Linked DNA regions of Homo sapiens: regions 1, 2, 4, 5, 6 and 7 are each linked to region 3. The links are contacts of gene promoters, found by promoter capture Hi-C in blood cells and fetal thymus (Javierre and others, 2016). All regions are on one chromosome and are shown on one strand. The core of a region is centred on a gene start or on the middle of the fragment in contact, and the rest is flanking DNA. Distances in the headings are between cores, read along the strand shown. Region 1 overlaps SULT1C3 (sulfotransferase family 1C member 3). Region 2 has its middle 8.6 kb from the start of LINC01594. Region 3 holds the start of GCC2 (GRIP and coiled-coil domain containing 2). Region 4 overlaps SULT1C3 (sulfotransferase family 1C member 3). Region 5 overlaps LIMS1 (LIM zinc finger domain containing 1). Region 6 overlaps LIMS1 (LIM zinc finger domain containing 1). Region 7 overlaps LINC01594 (long intergenic non-protein coding RNA 1594).

Region 1 (2,700 bases), core at 20-2,519, 190 kb before region 3:
CCCTGCCTGTTTGCAGACAGCCAATGTCAGTGGTTCTGAAACTTGAGTCACATTAGAACCCCTGCAGGCCTTGCTAAAGCTCTGATTGCTGGTCCCCACTCAGAGATACTGATTCCACAGATCCAGCAGTAGCCCTCAAATTTGCTTTTCTCTCAAGTACTCAGGTGATGCTGATGGTGCTGGTCACTTTGATTACAATACCCACCTCAACCATGAACTTCCCTTTGAAGGCTTGTGCATCCTCTGAGCAGCTTTGAACACTCATCTTTAGTCTATCCCTGTAGTTCAAAACCCTAGCTAAGCACTTAGTACTTGGATTTGTAACTACTGATATTCATGTCTGTCTCCAAAATAAGATGATAGGCTGTCCTGAAGAGAGTGTAGTGTTCAGTTTTGTTCCACTAGAACCTAGTATAGAGACTCATACCTCAAAACAACTCAGTAATGGCCTGTTGTGTGAGTGTACAGATGAATGAACATTATTTCTGTCCTCAACAAGTTAACATTCTAGATACATGCAAAAATAGCTGCAAAAAGTTATAAACAAGAAAGTAAAGTGGAAGCTATACTAGGAATTCCCTAATACCAGTTCTCCTGGCTGTATCAAAATTACCTTTAAAAACAGTGACCCCATTCCAGAACATTCCAATTAACTAGTTGCAAGCTGGAATCTAGAATTTGATATTATGGGCAAGCATTTCAGATTAATCCTCTTGTCAAAGGGTAGGAAACCAGTAGAAATAAAGTACTAGGATAACTTAGAGAAACAATTCATTAGTACAGCATTTGTTGGGCTGACAAGGTACAACAGTTTGCAGAAGATCCCTAGTATCCAAATGTCATTTCCAGTGGATTTACTATTTAATTTTACCCAACAAGTAATATCTTCTACAATGAGGTTACTGACATCTTGTAACGTCTTTCACTGTCCCTGGGAGAATAAGATAGGCTGTCCCCCAGGAAGTCCATGATGGTAACCAGCTGTAGACTTTGGGTTGGGTACACTAGAGCCAGGAGTGTACCCTGGAGCAGAAGATTCAGCACAGTGGGGCACCTCAGTGGGGCCTGCAGCATTTGAGGAAGGAGTATAAGGATGCTGTGTGCCTTGTGGTAAGAAAGCCAAGTGGAGTGGAAATGAGGGACCATTCATAGTGGAAAGACCAGAGGGAGTGGGACTGAGGGACCCTCACTCATGGGAAAATCACGTGGGTAGGCCTAGGAACCATTCACTATAGAAAGGTTAGGTGGAATGGGTGCAGAGTCTGTCATGAACTTCTTTGATGTCCTACAGGGATGCCTGGAGACTGGAAGAACCACTTTACTGTGGCTTTGAATGAGAACTTTGATAAGCATTATGAAAAGAAGATGGCAGGGTCCACACTGAACTTCTGCCTGGAGATCTGAGAGGAACAACAACAAACTAGGTGACAGAGACTATGCCAACTATTTCGCCTTTTATTCTGTTGAGCAAGGAACTGTGACTGAATGTGGAGCTTATGAGCTTCAGTCCATCTCCTATAGTGTGGCTAGTTTGCTATAATATTAAAACATGATTTAAAATATCAACAAACCAGTTACTCCAGTAAATAAAATAAGAGAATTAGAGAGCAGAGTCCGCCTACATGAGTTTTTTTGTTTGTTTGTTTTTTAAGTACAGGTATGTTTTATTGTGCATGACAGACAGAGCAAAAACAAACAATTGCATCATGGATTCCCATGTGTGATCCCAAGTAGATTTCACAAGAAAATTATGCATAGGTATTACAAGCCCCATTGTTAAGAGAGAATGTAACAGCTTGAAGTGTACATTCTATACTTTTATGTATAAATAATAACTTCCAAGAGAAAAGAGCTGATAAGTACATTTCAGAGTCACCATTTCTGTAATAGAATGATATAAAAATAAATTACTACTGCAAAATATCAATCAATTGCAAAATGATTACTGCTCTACTTTTGGCTTGTAACTAATTTTCTCAATCGAAAGAGTTTGAGTTGGAGAAATTAGTCAGTGAGTACTCCTGTAAAAAATCTTCCCACGATATAAATAAAATGCTTAATGTATCTAATCTATAAATTGAGATCTGGGACAAATGCACCATGACTATGCATTGCCATTCTCTTAATAACTATGCATTGCCATTCTCTTAATAAAGAGTCTCTGTTGCATCACTCTAACAATAGGTATGACCTCAGATTTAATATAAATTTAGTGCTTCAACCATGCACCAGTGAAGACCTGGTTTTTTATATGACCAAGTACAATTGTCTTATTAGAAGAGAAGGTCCTGAGGGGCCTTAGGGAGTAGGTGGATGCCAACAGGGCTGATGGCCTCAGAGATGACAGCATGTAACATGTAAGAAAGGGGGGAAATTTGGAAAGACTTAAACTCAGAAATAAAATTAAAGAAGTGTAAAAAGGTATTCAATTAACATCTTGAAAGGGAATCAGGAACAATATACATAGCTCCCAGTACACAGAGCAAAGTAACCTCCCTGTGGTTGTGATCATTGTCTCTACCTTATCGTAGTGACAAGGCAGTGCTATTGTTACGCCAGGCAAAGGGGAAATGACATCCTATTCTCTAGTCAACTGGATGGAAGACAAACTCAAAGGTAAAAAATAGATGATGAGATTTTAAGAAAAGAGAGCAGCTGGTCCCTAAGGCCTGCTGTAAGGAAGCAGAGAGGATGAAGATG
Region 2 (2,700 bases), core at 43-2,542, 220 kb before region 3:
AGACCCACCATGGGTTAGTAGTTCATGGTCAAGAATGATATTTCTTTGAGATTGCCTTTGATCAAAAGGAGGTATGGGGGTGACTGTAGGGATAAATGTTGTCTTTTAATAGAAGACTCTAACAAATTTGCATTCATTTCCTAGGGATGCTGTAACAAGTACTACAAAGTGAGTGGCTTAAATTTATTCCCTGGCAGCTCTGAGGGCTAGAAATCTGGAATTGTGTCAGCAGGTCTGTGGTCCCCCTGAGACTTAGGAAGAATGTTTCAGCACCTCTTCTAGCTTCACATGGTGGTCAGTAACCCTTGGCTAGTTTGACTTGTGAGACGTATCACTCTCATCTCCACCCATCATCATAGGGCCTTCTGCCCTGTGTGTGTGTGTATGTGTGTGTGTGTATGTGTGTGTGTACCCTGTTTGACCTTCTGTGCATTTGTGTCCAAATATCCTCTTATTTTAAGGACACTAATCATTGAATTATGGCCCATTCTAATTCATATGGTCCCATTTAACTTGATTACATCCCGCAAAGACCCAATTGTAAACTAAATCATGTCCCCCCACCAAATTCATACTTTGAAGCTCTAAATACCAGTGGAGCTACATTTGGAGGAAGAAAGTGATTAAGGGTAAAAGGGGTCATAACATTGGCCCTTGGTCTAATGGGATTAGTGCCCATCTAAGAAAAGACACTAGAGAGCCTGTGCTCTCTCTTCACAAGCACACACCAAGGAAAGGCCACGTGAGGACACAGCACGAAGGTGAACATCTGTAAGCCAGGAGAAAAGCCCTCACGAGGATTAACAAAACACTGATGATTTCGGGTTTCCTAACTTGGACTTGGATTCAAATTTTCCTTCTTTTCAAACATCGATGAATATCAGCTTAGAATTGTGTTCTTATTAGCGTTCCTTCAGGCAAAAGGGAACCTGCTAACTAGTCAGTTCCAATAACTGATGCAAGATCATCTTCTGACCATAGCAAACCTATCAAGCTTGCTGCTTTCTCTGACTCAGTGGGGCATAGACCTCCTAATTACTGAATAAATATTGCTCAGGTTTTTTTTTTAGGTCTGTGAGATAAGTTTGCAGAATCAATAAAACATTGTCACAAAGTAGGTATCTTCATTATGCTATCAGCTTGGGGATATAGATGATCTTTGGGCTGCCCTCTTCCCTTTTATCATCTCCTTATCCATACTGCTTTTTGAACTTTCTGAACTCCTTAGCAGGTAGGCACAGTACCTTTAATGTGGCTTGGACTTCCCTTCCTCAAGAACTATAAGAAGCACATTTCTGTTGTTTGAACACACCAGAATATTGTATTTTAGTGCAGACTAATACAGACACTACTTCTAAATAGGATGATGTTTACAGTCACCAGAGGTTAGGATTTGAACATGTCTCTTGGGGCACACAATTCAACCCACAACATCCTTCAGGGATATCAGATTCTGATCATATTCATTATCTTTATGCTACTTTGAATATGTTTAAAAACTGTAATAATTGATGGATAAGCAAACTGTCTTGATTTCTCCCACTGTGAAAACAAAAGACAGTGTTATTTCCTGTCACCTTGTACACACTGTCAAGCTTCACCAAGTTTTCAGGACTTCCAGTTTCCTTCAATATCTGTTTCCGACCCTCCAGACCAATATTTTAATTTTTCTCTCTCACTTCTGACTCAGCATTACTGAGAACCACAGCTTGACTGCACAGATCTCTATCAAGGCTCTAGGATACCCCGAAGCTGGCCTTTTCCCCAGGATCTGAAGAAGTCCCAAGATTTGAAGCCTGACAACTTACTGAACCTGGAAAAACTGAAAACCACTTAAGACTGCTGGATTCACCCACAGACAATCCACTGTGTGAGCTCCTAGGACTGTCTGGTGAAACACTTGCTTTTTTAAAAAAAAGGAAACCATACTGTGGACAACATCCCCCAGAGCATTGACTCTTCACGTCAAGAAACTCAACAAGCAATGTGTATAATCCAGAGATTTCCATCCAAAGACCTCCTGGGATCTGATAGACTGGATACCCTTGGGGTTCAACTCTTGGCTGTTTAATACAACATTTTATGCTATATTTATGTTTTTCACTTTAGGCATTCCACTTTTAAAATGCCTCATCTTAGGGACATAAAACAGCTCACCATTGCTAGCGTGCTCAACAGACGTTTCCACTGGTTTTCCAGGGACAATGCTCAGGAAACTCTGGCCCTGAAGACTATTGCACTCAGCCATCTACAACTTCTAATTTCCCTTATCCCTGAGTTGCTCAGGGACAGTTTATCTGAGCCTGTATTAAAACAGAGGAGAGACTGACAAAGCTGATCAAACTACATTTGACATAACTTGAGGCTGGATATACTGTGATGGCTGGCCCTCAGTTTTATATGAACTTCCCTCATTATAACTTTTTTTGCTCTATCTCAGGGACAAACCTCTGCCCATGTACTTAAATGAAAATGAACATTCCCTACCTTCCTGTTATTGCAACATTTGACACAGTTCCTTAAGTATCAAGACCGCTCAGCATTTTTTAGTTTTTCTCTTCCCACAGTCATCGATCTCATGTCTTTGCATGTAAAAGCTTTGCTTGACCACCTATTCCAAGAAATGTTCTGGCATGGACCCTGAGCATTTCTCTGTTGCACCAACTGCTCTTAATAAAGTATTTTCTTTATTAAGAAAAT
Region 3 (2,700 bases), core at 51-2,550:
ATTGCAAGTGATTTTTTCAAGTTATTAATTGAAATAGGAGTCTACCGTAAGTTGCTCTTAACTTGGGGAACTACTTTGAATGGCATTAATCTGGACCATTAATAACAATGTATACTTGGGGATTGTGTGTGTGTGTGTGTATACATGTGTGTGCATATATGTGTGTACACACACGTGCACACACACGTGCGCGCACACGTGCACACACACACGTGCACACACACACGTGTACACACACACGTGTACACACACACGTGTGTTACTGTACGTGGAGACTGTACATCTTAGGTCACACACCACCCCTGAACCAATCCTACAAACACCATAGGTGATACACACTGTCAAAGACAAAGAGTAGATGTCCACAATAGCTGTTCTTTCTCGTTTATAACACTTCTTTTACCTAGTAATAATCAGCTACCATTTACTCGATACATACTGTGTGCTGCCTCTTCAACCTTTTGACCATTTAAACTACAGGAAACTAGGTTATCTTCAGGTTACCTTAGTTATGGGAGTGTATGGAAAACATTAATGGGAAGGTGAAAGCGCAGCAAACCACTTCAGCAGTTAACAGAAAGGCTCTCAGAGCACTGGACCGCCAATCAGGACACAGCAGCAGCTCTGGGATTCGACCACAGATTCTCTGGCGTGCCCTTCGGGAAAGGGTGGCCTCGGGCCCCCTACTCTACAGAGTCTCCTCCCACGGCTGCCCAGTTCCCTGGCCGACTATCTTGCCTCCACCACATCACCATCAGTACCGGGCGGCTGCAGGGCAGAGCTGTCCAGGGACCTCCTCACAGCCTCCAGAGTCAAGAAATGCCTCCTCAGGGAAGCCCTCTACCGCATCCCTGACCTGTGAGTCACGGAGCTCCCGGGCACCATGCTGGCCACAAATGCCTAAGGAGCCCCCCGGAACCAGCTGTGGGTCCCGCAGGCACTCGCAGGCTAGCGGACACCTTTGGAGGACTGAGAGACCTGTCCTGCAATCCAATGTTCCTCACTCTCACAAGATTTTACAGACGTGGAAACCGAGGCCCGAGGCCCCAAGGGGTAATCGGCCCGCCTTCCCATGCCAATAACCGGCAGTGGCGGGACCCACACCTACTCCGTGACCTGCAGGCCCAGGGGTCGAGCCCCAGGTAGAACGTCTAGACGGACTCCGCCCTTAGCGCCGTACGGGGAACCTTCTCCCGGACGCAGACACGGAAGCGGAAGTGCTGCCGAGCTGTAGCTATGGAGACGTGGGGGGCGGGCCGCCCGGAGAGCGCGACCTTTGACCTGCAGTAGAGCCTACGTCAGAGGCTGGCGCAAACAGAAGTGCAGCGGTGGCGGCGGCTGGTTGCGGGCCGGCGGCGGGCTGGCGGAGATGGAGGTAACTCAGGTCGGGCCCACTGCCTCCCATCAAGCCTTCCGCGCCGCGATTTGGGATGTGGGAGTGGGCCCGATGGGAGGGCGCGGTAGTCTCCCTCTTGGTGTCCCGAAGCCCGCGCTGCTGTCGCCTCCCCATCTTTCGTAAACTCTATCCCTGGGGGTTACCTGCCCCGTAGAGCCCGTTTGTGTACGAATTGCCACAGCGACCGCCTCCGTCCGCCCTCATTCTCTGTCTCACGAGGCTTTCCACCACTTGATTCCATAGAAGGTTTTTCCCTGTAAGGGTTCTACGCGTTCCGTGTGGAATTAGGAAAAGAGTTCTTCTGACACCTGGGTTTGATTTTGTTTTGCAGGATCTTGTTCAAGATGGGGTGGCTTCACCAGCTACCCCTGGGACCGGGAAATCTAAGGTGAAGAGAATACTTGAATAGCGGGCTTCCTGAAGAGTGGAAGGGTGATGAATTGGAAAACTTTGGCATGGGGAAGGGGGGGGCGCTGATTTTTTTTTTTTTAATAGCCTTGCTCCAAGGGATCTCAATTTTAGTGTGCGCAATCGCCCATTTCCTGTTTCTCCCCCGCCCACCCCGATATAGAAAGACTTTTTGTTTGCTTCCTGCTCCTGGTTAGCACTGCTGGGAGATCCTGCTATTTTTCGAACATAAAGCAGTCTAAGAAGGTTTATATAGTGGTGTAGTGGAAGGAGCAGTGACATAGGGTAGGAATCAAGGGATTCTGATCTGTGGGCTCCAGTTTCTACATTGCCAAAGAGTTTAATTAGTCCAGTTTTATGGCCCTGTACAATGTTTAACATTCAATCATTCTAAATGATAGTGGTTTATTGCTAAGGTTTATTGTGTGCATGCTAAATTTCTGGCGCTTGCCTAACCACTCAGTTCCTTCGTTTAAGCTTCATGATAACCATGAGATAGGTACTGTTGTTACCCTCCTTTTACAGATGAGAAACCTGAGACCACAGGCTTAAGCAATTTTCTCAAGTGGTAAAGCTCAATTTTTTAATTAAAGCCTGAATGTTACCCGGTTCATCTTGCTGCTGTAATTATGCGTAAATTTTCTTGTGACCAAAGACTTGCAGCCTTGAATAGAATGAAATAATTTTACAGCTCCAAGGAATTTTAAGTAGCATTAGCTCCAACCTACTGATTTTACAATTAAATCAAAAGCTAGCAATGTCAACCTGTAACATTAGCTATAAGAGGATATGGCCTGGTTTTTACGTTTCATAGTAGTTGCATAACTAATTTTTAGTAGTTGCATAGCAATTACAGAATTGACGTTGCATTTGCTGATTTTAAAAAATGTGGCCGG
Region 4 (2,700 bases), core at 189-2,688, 210 kb before region 3:
ACAGGTCGTGGTGGCTCATGCCTGTAATCCCAGCACTTTGGGAGGCCCAGGTGGGTGGGTCATGAGGTCAGGAGATTGAGAGCATCCTGGCTAACATGGTGAAACTCCGCCTCTAGTAAAAATACAAAAAATAAGCTGGGCATGATGGCGGGTGCCTGTAGTCCCAGCTACTCAGGAGGCTGAGGCAGGAGAATGGCATGAGCCTGGGAGGTGGAGCTTGGAGTGAGTAGAGATGGCGCCACTGCACTCCAGCCTGGGTGACAAAGTGAGACTCCATCTCAAAAAAAAAAAAAAAAAAATCACTGGAAAACCTGGTTAGTAAGCGATTTTAATTATATACCAGGTGTGGATCCTAGGACCCAGACAGAAACGCAAATAAAGTTTGACTTTTCAGTATCTAACTCCATGTGTCCCAGGCCTTACTTATCTGTAAAGCAGGCAATATACAACCTGGGAACATTTAGCAACCCTGGTATCTAAGTTATATGATTCAGACCACCTATTTGCATTTTGACGACACTTGTATTCTACCAATAATTCTTAAGAGTATTTTTAATTCTTAAAGCCATGTGAACTAAAAACGTATTTGATTTAAGCAATTATTTTTCTTTAAGCCAATCAATTAGAGCTCTTTTTGCAGACATTACACACAAAACATATATAGCAGCACAGACAGAAGATTCAGCACTTGTTAAGATTTTTCATTTGCCAGTTTTTTAATTGGATTACTGGCTTTAGGGTGGAGCCCTTGGAGGAGCAGGGTCAGGTACCATGCATTTTTTAGTGCCTAATAAGCAGACACAGCTGAAGGCAATTAGCCCATCCCCCCATAGAAGTCTTATTTTTTAGTGGAGGGTGGGGATGTTTTCATACCTTTCAGGTGGCCAAGAGCATGCTTCTCTGATTTATTACTACTCCTAGCCGTCCCTTACAGTGTATTTTCTACCTGGTTATTAAACAGCAAATCTCTCTCATAATGTGAAGTAATGTGAAACCCCCAAAACATAAACAGTATATAACACAATACATAACAGAACAGAGTCTTTGATTTTGAGAGGAAACTATCTACTTTTAATTTTGGGGGCTTCGTGGGAAAAACAGAGGGCTTTTTATTTTCCCAAAACAGGGTCTGTGGCACCTCCTCTGTTTTTCCCAAGGAGTCCCATGCTACCAGAAGTTATCTTTGGGCCTCTCATGCATGCATTAGGAGTGGTAAGACAAAAAATAGAGAAAAATAATTCAGTCGACTGAGAGGAAAAAAGGCTTTTTCCAGAAAAACTTTTAAATATACCTATAACTTGAATATCCATTTTTAATTAAGCTGAGCACTCTTTAAGAAAATCCTTTTAAATCCCTTTTTACTCGACTTTAGCCATGCCAAGCAGTTAAGATTTTTGACTTTTCAATTTTACAAAAAGTAACCTTACAGGTGAAACCAATGAGCCTTAATTAGGTTATGATTTAACCGTGAGTGTGCAAGGCATTTTCAAAGGAGGGTAAGCAGCTTTTGAAACTATCATTGCAAAATTGTAACTGAGACAGTGAAAGACATCTGACCCAAACAGCTCCATTTTGTTTCCAGCGCCCGAGCTGTCCTTGCCCATCCCTGGGGACAGGCTTCACCAACTTTGGGAGGAACCTGGTTTACAGTTTATACTTTAAAACAAAGATGGTAACAGCTCCTTCTTAAGATATGTTTCCAGGGCCGGGCGCGGTGGCTCACACCTGTAATCCCAGCACTTTAGGAGGCCGAGGCAGGTGGATCACGAGGTCAGGAGATCGAGACCACCCTGGCTAACACGGTGAAACCCTGTCTCTACTAAAAATACAAAAAATTAGCCGGGAGTGGTGGTGGGTGCCTGTAGTCCCAGCTACTTGGGAGGCTGAGGCAGGAGAACAGCGTGAACCTGGGAGGTGGAGCTTGCAGTGAGCTGAGATTGAGCCACTGCACTCCAGGCTGGGTGACAGAGCAAGACTCTATCTCAAAAAAAAAAAAAAAGATATACTTCCCTCTTGCCTGGGAACAAGACCAAAAAACTAGCCAGAAGTCTTGAAACCATCCCTTAGGAGTCATGCAGCAAGAGACTATGAGATTTTGACCCTCCCTAAACTGCTTTCAAGATCAGTGCTTAAGATATTTTGTAAACTCTACCCTTGATGAATCAGCTAGCACCACCCGATTGACAAACTGGCTTATATGATTTTTTGGCCCTTACTCAGGAACTGACTTAGCACAAGAAGACAGCCACCATTGTAAAAAGGCTGAGAGTAAAGTATATTATTGCCATGTAGTTACAGGTCATGTATCCAGACATGAAACAAGATGGAGGCCTGTGGCCAAGTTTGTTACTATTATGTTGGGCTGGCTTGAACCGCAGACTTGTGGGGTCCTGGGCCTGCATCCTAACCTAAGGTATCTTTTCTTTGACAGAACCATACAGAAAGACATGCAAAGCACACCAAATTGTCTACAGCTTAAGATCAACAAAAATCCTTTTTCATTAATTATAAATTCACAGAGAATATAAACAATGATCCTTATTATCCCCTTTACTGGCTCACACAGGGAGAGAGAAGCCAAAAGCCCAACTGGTAAGAAATTTTTACCCTTTTGCCAGCATATCACACTTCTGGGTTCCCTTCCCCCTAGCTCAACTCTAAGCCAAGCATTTTTAAGTTTGGAAAATTAACTTTTCCCAG
Region 5 (2,746 bases), core at 164-2,663, 190 kb after region 3:
AGGTACTTGAGGACTGGGCAGGTTTCTGATAAGCAGAAAGTTCAGGAGAAAAAAAAGGGACAGTGGTATTCATCCAGAAAATCGTATGTCCTTTGTATGTTTCACCCAGTGCTGGAAATGTTGATCATCACTTTTAAAGATAATTCTAAAGTCACCTTGCAACAACCCTGCATTTATTTAAGATCATATATCATATATGTGTACATGTTTTTGTTTTGTTTTTTTGAGACTAAGTCTCGCTCTATCGCCCAGGCTGGAGCGCAGTTGCGCCATCTCAGCTCATTGCAACCTCCACCTCCCGGGTTCAAGTGATTCTCCTGCTTCAGCCTCCTGAGTAGCTGGGATTACAGGCACCTGCCACCACACCCGGCTAATTTTTGTATTTTTAGTAGAGACAGGGTTTCACCATGTTGGTCAGGCTGATCTTGAACTCCTAACCTCATGATTCACCCACTTTGGCCTCCCAAAGTGCTGGGATTACAGACGTGAGTCACCGTGCCCAGCCGTGTACATGTATTTTAAAAAGAATAGAGCTCAAAATGTTAAAGTACTTGTTTCCAGTTGGCAGGAATATGCGTGATTCTTCTCTGCCTTTCATACATTTTCTGCAATAAGCTATATTGCTGTTGGGCTGATAAAAGTTGACAAATTCAACTTACCAAACCAAAACAGTACAGTTCAGTGATCCCATCCCAAAGCACTTACACATCCATGCGCACGGGCTCACAGAAACTGAGGCTTGCCATTGTTCAGTCATTTGTTAGTGTTCTGCTTTTAATGATTGCACCTTTTTGCTGCCCATTCTGTTTTCCCATCCAGTCTCGTGTCTTTCCATGATGGGTTTCCTGTGTGATGGGAGTGTCTCCATTATCATAGGGACAGGATGGCTTGTTGCAGGGAGTAAGAGCGTCACAAGAGTGTCTGAGGCACTCAGGGAGTGTCATGGAGAAAGGAGAGAGTGCTGGGAGGAGCTTGATTTCAGTCTTTCTCCTTTCCCTTCCCCAGGCTCCATGTCCTTTACAAAGTCCTTTGTGGGTAGATATTTGTTGGTTGGTTCATGTTAGCAACTTTTCTAGAGATCATCCAGGGAGAGGTGCTTCTTAAGAAACAAGCCACCACATAGGTCGTCAAGACTTAAAACTGGTTAGGATTGAGTAACTGACCTATTTATTTGCAGTACTTTCTGCCTGTTGTGGGCAGTGTCTCTGAGGCCACACAGTGCTTTCAGACCTGCCTTGTGTTGCAGAACCCCATGGACACTGAGGTTGAGCGTGGGGCCATTCCTGCCTTCTCTGGGCTGTCCCTCAGTACACCTCTGCCTGGGGCTCCTGAGTGGCCACTCTCTTTTGCCTGTGGGCTTTGGGAATAAAACTAGGATAGTTTTCCCTCAGATACTAGAGGAGGAATTTTTTATTGATACATAATAATTGTACATATTTATGGGGTGCATGTGTTATTTTGCTGCATGCATGTAATGCATAAGGATCAAATCGGGGTAACTAGCATATCCATCACTTCAAACATTTATCATTTCCTTGAGTTTAGAACTTTCACAATCCTCTTCTAGCTTTTTGAACATGCGCAATAAATTATTGTTAACATTAGTCACCCTACAGTGCTGAGGAACCCAAGAACTATTCCTGTTACTCAGCTGTAATGTTGAGTCCCTTAACCTCTCCCTCTCTCCCCTCCCAGCCACCCTTCCCACCCTCTAATAACCAACTCTGCGTTCTAATTCTGTGAGTTCAATTGTATTTTTGCTTTCACATATGAGTGAGAACATCTGGCATGTGTCTTTCTGTGCCTGACTTATTTCACTTAACATAATGTACCCCGGGCTCATCATGATGCCACCACTGACAGGATCTAATTCTTTTTTTGTGGCTGGATGATATTCCATCTGAAACGATGTATTTTAGATGATTTTAAGACTTAAATGGGTGCCTGCTAGTTTTCTTCCAGAAATATTTCAACCTGATATCATAATGGCATTTCACTCATTTTCCTTTTAAGGGAAATAAATACAGTTAAGATATCATAAAGTTTGGGATGCTAGAAACCTATCTGCAACACCGAAGAGAGTCTCTAACTCTTTAGATTAAGTTTCATTTCAGAGGGAGTTTCTTGAAGACAATTAGATGCAAATAGCCTTCTCACAATTACAACCTCATTGTAATTTCTGGACTTTGATTCCAGTGTTTGGGATGGTTTGGGCCCCTGGGATGGGGTTGATGGTGCATAGGGAGAGAATTTGTTTTGTTCATTTCATTATTGTTAGGTGATAATCTTTTAGTGACTCTTCAGTTATTTTTAGCATATGTAACAAAGCCACGGTAGCTCTGCCTTACTTTGATAATAATCCCAATAAGCAATGCTAATACAAACATGTAAAAAATGTGCTATTTTCTTTATTTTAAACTAGCTTGAGAAAATGTACATTATTTCTTTATCACTGTCTTGCTTCTGTGGTAATGAATAATTTCTTTTTGCCTGTGCATTCAAAAATTAGGAAAAAAAATTGACAAGGCAAAATGGCATATTAATTACAAATCCGTATCTTTTTCTGGCCAAACTTTGTCTGTTTTCTCACTGTCTGTTGAAAGAAAATCCAGTGCATTTGTTCTAGAAGCTACAAAATGGGAAGGAACTTCCCAGTTTCATTATCTTTACTTGCATGTCATGATTGTTTTGTTTTTAGTAGTCTGGGGGAAATTAGATTGTATTTTCCATTTGAGCAGGATAGAGG
Region 6 (2,700 bases), core at 26-2,525, 240 kb after region 3:
TCGTTTTAGATTGTAAGCTCAATGGCAGGGATACTATATTGGTAATTATGTTTTCATATAGCAACCACCACAGTATATTCTTGGTGCTTAATAAATGTTTATAATTGTTAACAATAACCTGTTGTATATTGTTTATTTTGAATGGTATATATGTGAAATACATATGAAAATTGAAGTATTCATGAATATATAATAGAAACAAGTAAATGAATAAAATGACCTGGTTACTATAGATAAGCCAAATTTTGAACCATCTAGAACAATGGTGTAGTCTTCCCTCTACTCAATGTAAATGCTGGGTTTTTTAATTATTATTATTATTAAGAAGGAGATACAGTCCAGGCACAGTGGCTCACACCTGTAATCCCAGCACTTTGGGAGGCCGAGGCCAGTGGATCACTTGAGGTCAGGAGTTTGAGACCAGCCTGGCCAACACAGTGAAACCTCATCTCTATTAAAAATACAAAAATTAATAGGGCGTGGTGGTGTGCACCTGTAGTCCCAGCTACTTGGGAGGCTGAGGCAGTAGAATCACTTGAATCCAGGGGGCAGAGGTTGCAGTGCAATGGTGTGCTGGGATTACAGGCAATGAGCCACTGTGCCCTGCCCTCAGCTGGAGTGCAATGGTGCAATTAAGTTCTTTCTTTTTCAACTCAAAATTTGTCTGCATCTTTACCCAAATATCCAGATCTGATACTCTAGGCTTGGGCTAATATAGTGGGGTGGAGGAGGCTTGGGTTAAGGTTTAAAGTTCCAAGGGCTGAACCGGAATAAATGGTGTATTTATCAAGGGAAGAGCAAGGCAAAACCAGCAAGTCCAAACCATGGAGGCCTCAACCGAGGTGAGGGGAAAAGTTAGGGAGCCTTAGGAAAGCTCTGAGGAGGGACCCCAATTAGGGGGACCGTAGTTAGGGTATGAGGTTTGTGAGATCAGGACTGGAATTGCTGCAAGAGACCCTATGATTGGGTGGCAGCAGCACGTTGTGGAGATGAGCCTGCTTCCTCAGCCTCTTCCTCTTGTCAGAACCCTTTGCCTCTCCCTACACACGCACACACACATGCATGCACCATGCTACAGAAACCTTTCTCAGTCTTGCCATTCTCTCAAATTATGCTTTGGTCTTCCCTTCATCTTCAGATTCTTTAAAGAGAATCAAAGTTCCCACTTCTAGCATGATGAAGTGAGGAGGTCAACAAATCTTTCCAAAATGTAACTGTATAGCTGGACAAACCATTTAGCATTCTGTAATTTTACCAAAGGCACCGCACAAATGGGGATGTGTTTAAGAATGAAAGCTGGCCAGGCGCGGTGGCTCACGCCTGTAATCCCAGCACTTTGGGAGGCTGAAGCAGAAGGACCACTTGAGCTCAGGAGTTCAAAAACAGCCTGGGCAACTTGGTGAGACCCCCGTCTGTACAAAAAAAAAATCAAAAAAGGCATGGTGGTGCACACTTGTGGTCCCAGCTACATGGGAGGCTAAGGCGGGAGAATCATTTGAGCCCAGGAGATTGAGGCTGCAGTGAGCTGTGATCACACCACTGCACTCCAACCTGGGCAACAGAGTGAGACAGACCCTGTCCCTAAAGAAAAAAAAGAAGAATTAAAGTGAGCCTTGGATAAGACCAGCCTGTGTCTGTGGCATCTTTGCCCAGGCTGCTACCCCCATTTACCCCAGCTGTTGATAACACACACAGCGGCCCCCAGCAGGGCAGCCTGTGGAGATAAGCTCCCCTGCCACCTCGTTGCAGGGGCTGGAGGCAAGAGTGAGGAAGGTTTTGATTTGCAGCATGGCTAGTTAAGGTGGTGATATCAGTGACCAGGAGGAAGAAAGGCCACTGACTCCTAGCCTGAGGCTCTGGGCCTTTGGAGACGAGCAAATGACCTGCAGATTAGTCATGGATGTAAGAGGGAGCTCCGGGAGGTCGGAGAGCCAGAGGGAGCTTAGTAAACTCTTCACACTACCCAAATGGACTGAAGGCTCATAGCTGGCAGAGATTAGAGCAAGCCCAAGCCATGTCCATATGCCCAGGGCACACAGCCTGTGTGTGTGCCGGTGCCAGTGTTAGGAAGTAAAAGCCGGAACACCCTTGCAAATGGCCCGGGGCGTGCCTCCTCCCCATTGCACATAGATCCAGCAGCAGATGGTGGAAACCATATTGGCTTTAACTGATGTTTGACAAACTATGCAAACAAGAAGCGACCTCTAAGAAGCCATTCTGAAAAATTAAAGCAAACAAATGCCAACAATAAAACTGAACAATGACCTGAGTGAGTGCACACTGTGGAGGAGACAGGCTTCCTGCATGGAGTCCAGCCAGGAGACAGTACAGAATGCATGGAGCAGCTATTGGAAGACAGTGAAAACTAAATAGTTGCAGGCAGCTTTCCCAAGAAGACCAGAACTTGAAGTACCACCAAACCAGTGGTGAGATAACCATGTTTCCCCTACGGCATCCCGTGACTAACCTGGCAGTGGGCACCAGGGTGCAGATAGAAAGAGCTCCAGAAGATGCCCTCTATTTCTGGCTCAAGTAACGGGAAAAGGGTCTCCTAACATTCCGAGGGAATCCAGAAGTTCGTTCCTCCCCATTTTTCTTTTCCCTGTTCTCTCATACCTCAGCCCACAAGCAGTCCCACAGTGGCACTGGCACCAGCCCCAAGAGGAGCCCAGGAGCCAAGATGTAGGAGGGAACCTTCTC
Region 7 (2,700 bases), core at 200-2,699, 240 kb before region 3:
CCTGGCCGTGTGAGGTGTCAGTCTGCCCCTACAGGGGGTTGCCTCCCACTTAGGCTACTCGGGGGTCATGGACCCACTTGAGGAGGCAGTCTGTCCGTTCTCAGATCTCAAGCTGCATCCTGGGAGAACCACTACTCTCTTCAAAGCTGTCAGACAGGGACATTTAAGTCTGCAGAGATTTCTGCTTCCTTTTGTTTGGCTATTTCCTGCCCCCAGAGGTGGAGTCTACAGAGGCAGGCAGGCCTCCCTGAGCTGCAGTGGGCTCCATCCAGTTTGAGCTTCCCGGCCACTTTGTTTACCTACTCAAGCCTTGGCAATGGCAGGCACCCCTCCCCCAGCCTCGCTGCCACCTTGCAGTTTGATCTCAGACTGCTGTGCTAGCAATGAGCAAGGCTCCGTGGGTGTAAGACCCTCTGAGCCAGGTGCGGGATATAATCTCCTGGTGTGCCATTTGCTAAGACCGTTGGAAAGCGCAGTATTAGGGTGGGAGTGACCCAATTTTCCAGGTGCCATCTGTCACCCCTTTCTTTGACTAGGAAAGGGAATTCCCTGACCCCTTGTGCTGCCCAGGTGAGGCAATGCCTCACCCTGCTTTGGCTCACGCTCGGTGCACTGCACCCACTGTCTGACACTCCCCAGTGAGATGAACCCGGTACCTCAGTTGGAAATGCAGAAATCACTCGTCTTCTGCGTCACTCATGCTGGGAGCTGTAGATTGGAGCTATTCCTATTCGACCATCTTGGCTCCACCCCCAATTTCATGTTTTTAAAGGCTACATAGTACTCTATTGTGTATACACACCAAATATTTGTATACATTCACCCACAGATAGGCACTACAGTTGTTTCCATATTGTGGCTCTTGTGACTAATGCTGCAATCAATATGGGAGTGTAGCTATCTCTTCAACGCACTGATTTCATTTCTTTGGATGTATACCCAGTAGTGGCAGAGCTGTGAAACCCACCCAATAGTCCCATAGGCAACTTTTTGAATAAATATAGAAATTGACCTTTCTGGTCTTAAAGCTTGAAACTTACATTCATTTTTTCTGCATTCCTTCCCCAGGAAATGACCATCAGGCCTCTAAACAAAAGTATCAAAGAATTGAAACTCATCCATCACCACATCCAGACAATGCAGTGCAGGCTTCCTTATTCATCATGATTGTTTTCTTGCCCCTCTCTAGTTCCTGTTTTCTTACATATTGTTACATGTGTTCCCTGCTCTATAACCCCCTCATTGTAGTTGGTCAGGGAAATTGATTTGAGACTGATATCCCACCTCCTTGGTTGCAGCACCCCGTTAAATCCTTCTTCCTTCTTCCTGGCACTACTCATTGTCCTAATCATTGGCTTTCTTTGTGGTGAGCTGCAGGACCTACACTGGACCCCTGGCCTTTTGGTTATCTGTGGATCATTAGTGATTGTATTTTTAGTTTTTTGAAGAGGCTTCATATTGTTTTCCAAAGTGGCTGTACTAATTTACAATGCCACTGATGTTGTACAAGGGTTCTCTTTTTTCTATACCTTCCCCACACTTGTTATTTGTTGTCTTTTTGATAAGAGATGATCTAACATGTGTGAGATGATATTTTATTGTGGATTTAATTTGCATTTCTCTGATGATTGGAGAGGTTCAGCACTTTTTCCTATATCTGTAGTCCATTTCTATGTATTCTTTTGAGAAATTACTATTTAGAACCTTTGTCCATTTTTAATTAGGGTTATTTCTTTTTTTTGTTATTCAGTTGTATGAGTTCCTTGTGTATTTTAAATATTAGCCTCTAATCCAATCTATGATTTGCAAATGTTTTCTCCCAGGTTGTGGGTTGTCTTTTCATTCTGTTAATTGTTTCCTTTGATGTTTAGAAAGCTTTCAGATCAATGCAGTGACATTTGTCTGTTTTTGTCCATCACAGTGATTTCACATAGCTCCAGACTTATGCCATGGAGCTTTACCACTATGTTTATGTTCTCCTCTAGTAGTTTTACAGTTTCAGCTCATATATTTTAAGTCTTTAGCCCATTTTGAGTTGATTCCTGTATAAGGGGTAAGAAAATCGTTTACTTTTATTCTTCTGCATGTGGATATCCAATTTTCCCAACACCATTTATTGAAGAGACTGTTCTTTTCCCATTGTGTGTTACTGGCACTTTTTTCAAAAATTAATAGACTGTAATTGTGGGTGTTTATTTCTGAACTCTCTATCCTAGTTCATTGGATGATGTATCTGTTTTATGCCAGCACCATGCTGTTTTGACGACTATAGCTTTGTAAAGTGTTTTGGAATCTGGTGGTGTGATGCCTCTAGCTTTGTTCTTTTTGCTCAAGATGGCTTTGGCGTGGCCTTTTGTGGTTTCATGTGAATTTTATAACTTCTCTTTCTATTTCTGTGAAGAATGACCTTGAGACTTTGATTGAGATTGCATAGAGTCTATGAATGGCTTTGGGTAGTACAGATATTTTAAAAATATTCTTTCAATACATTAACACAGAAAATCTTTCAGTTTATTTGTGTCATCTTCAATTTCTTTCATCAATGTTTTACCATTTTCAGTATATAGATCTTTCACATTCTTGGTTAAATTTATTCCTAAGTATTTTATTTTATATTTGGTGCTATTGTAAATTGGTTTATTTTTTTATTTTTTAAAAAGATAGTTCATTGTTAGTGTGCAGAAATGCAACTGGTTTTTG

The links. The method cuts DNA at HindIII sites, captures the fragments that hold promoters and counts their contacts. A CHiCAGO score of 5 or more calls a contact.
Region 1: a contact is called between a fragment that was not itself captured here and the fragment with the promoter of GCC2 in region 3, in 3 of 17 cell types (M0 macrophages, M1 macrophages and M2 macrophages). The highest score is 6.1, in M0 macrophages.
Region 2: a contact is called between a fragment that was not itself captured here and the fragment with the promoter of GCC2 in region 3, in 2 of 17 cell types (M0 macrophages and M1 macrophages). The highest score is 8.1, in M0 macrophages.
Region 4: a contact is called between a fragment that was not itself captured here and the fragment with the promoter of GCC2 in region 3, in 1 of 17 cell types (M0 macrophages). The highest score is 5.4, in M0 macrophages.
Region 5: a contact is called between a fragment that was not itself captured here and the fragment with the promoter of GCC2 in region 3, in 8 of 17 cell types (neutrophils, monocytes, total CD8 T cells and 5 more). The highest score is 14.1, in neutrophils.
Region 6: a fragment that was not itself captured here is called in contact with the fragment with the promoter of GCC2 in region 3 in 6 of 17 cell types (neutrophils, monocytes, M2 macrophages and 3 more); the score reaches 11.6 in neutrophils.
Region 7: a contact is called between a fragment that was not itself captured here and the fragment with the promoter of GCC2 in region 3, in 3 of 17 cell types (M0 macrophages, M1 macrophages and M2 macrophages). The highest score is 12.9, in M0 macrophages.

Annotation. Positions count from the first base shown.
Region 1 is chr2:108,259,277-108,261,976 of GRCh38, forward strand. SULT1C3 (sulfotransferase family 1C member 3) reads left to right here. Exons shown (of 8, transcript NM_001320878.2): 8 at 1,292-1,610. The coding sequence ends at 1,404. Among named protein-coding and RNA genes, the nearest start is that of SULT1C3, 21 kb to the left of the region's middle. The HindIII fragment of the contact is 3,799 bases long and covers 1-2,700 here.
Region 2 is chr2:108,225,080-108,227,779 of GRCh38, forward strand. It overlaps the pseudogene SETD6P1. Among named protein-coding and RNA genes, the nearest start is that of LINC01594, 8.6 kb to the left of the region's middle. The HindIII fragment of the contact is 601 bases long and covers 993-1,593 here.
Region 3 is chr2:108,447,906-108,450,605 of GRCh38, forward strand. GCC2 (GRIP and coiled-coil domain containing 2) reads left to right here and starts at 1,301. Exons shown (of 23, transcript NM_181453.4): 1 at 1,301-1,375; 2 at 1,728-1,784. The coding sequence starts at 1,370. RefSeq lists enhancers at 241-1,223, 1,128-1,387, 1,224-2,205, 2,291-2,700. The HindIII fragment of the contact is 5,578 bases long and covers 1-2,279 here.
Region 4 is chr2:108,241,647-108,244,346 of GRCh38, forward strand. The region is part of intron 1 of SULT1C3 (sulfotransferase family 1C member 3); the gene reads left to right. Among named protein-coding and RNA genes, the nearest start is that of SULT1C3, 3.0 kb to the left of the region's middle. The HindIII fragment of the contact is 3,149 bases long and covers 1-2,700 here.
Region 5 is chr2:108,639,246-108,641,991 of GRCh38, forward strand. The region is part of intron 1 of LIMS1 (LIM zinc finger domain containing 1); the gene reads left to right. Among named protein-coding and RNA genes, the nearest start is that of LIMS1-AS1, 38 kb to the right of the region's middle. The HindIII fragment of the contact is 2,875 bases long and covers 1-2,746 here.
Region 6 is chr2:108,687,130-108,689,829 of GRCh38, forward strand. LIMS1 (LIM zinc finger domain containing 1) reads left to right here. Exons shown (of 10, transcript NM_001193483.3): 10 at 1-117. Among named protein-coding and RNA genes, the nearest start is that of LIMS1-AS1, 9.9 kb to the left of the region's middle. The HindIII fragment of the contact is 7,259 bases long and covers 1-2,700 here.
Region 7 is chr2:108,208,514-108,211,213 of GRCh38, forward strand. All of the region lies in intron 1 of LINC01594 (long intergenic non-protein coding RNA 1594), which reads right to left. Among named protein-coding and RNA genes, the nearest start is that of LINC01594, 8.0 kb to the right of the region's middle. The HindIII fragment of the contact is 847 bases long and covers 1,027-1,873 here.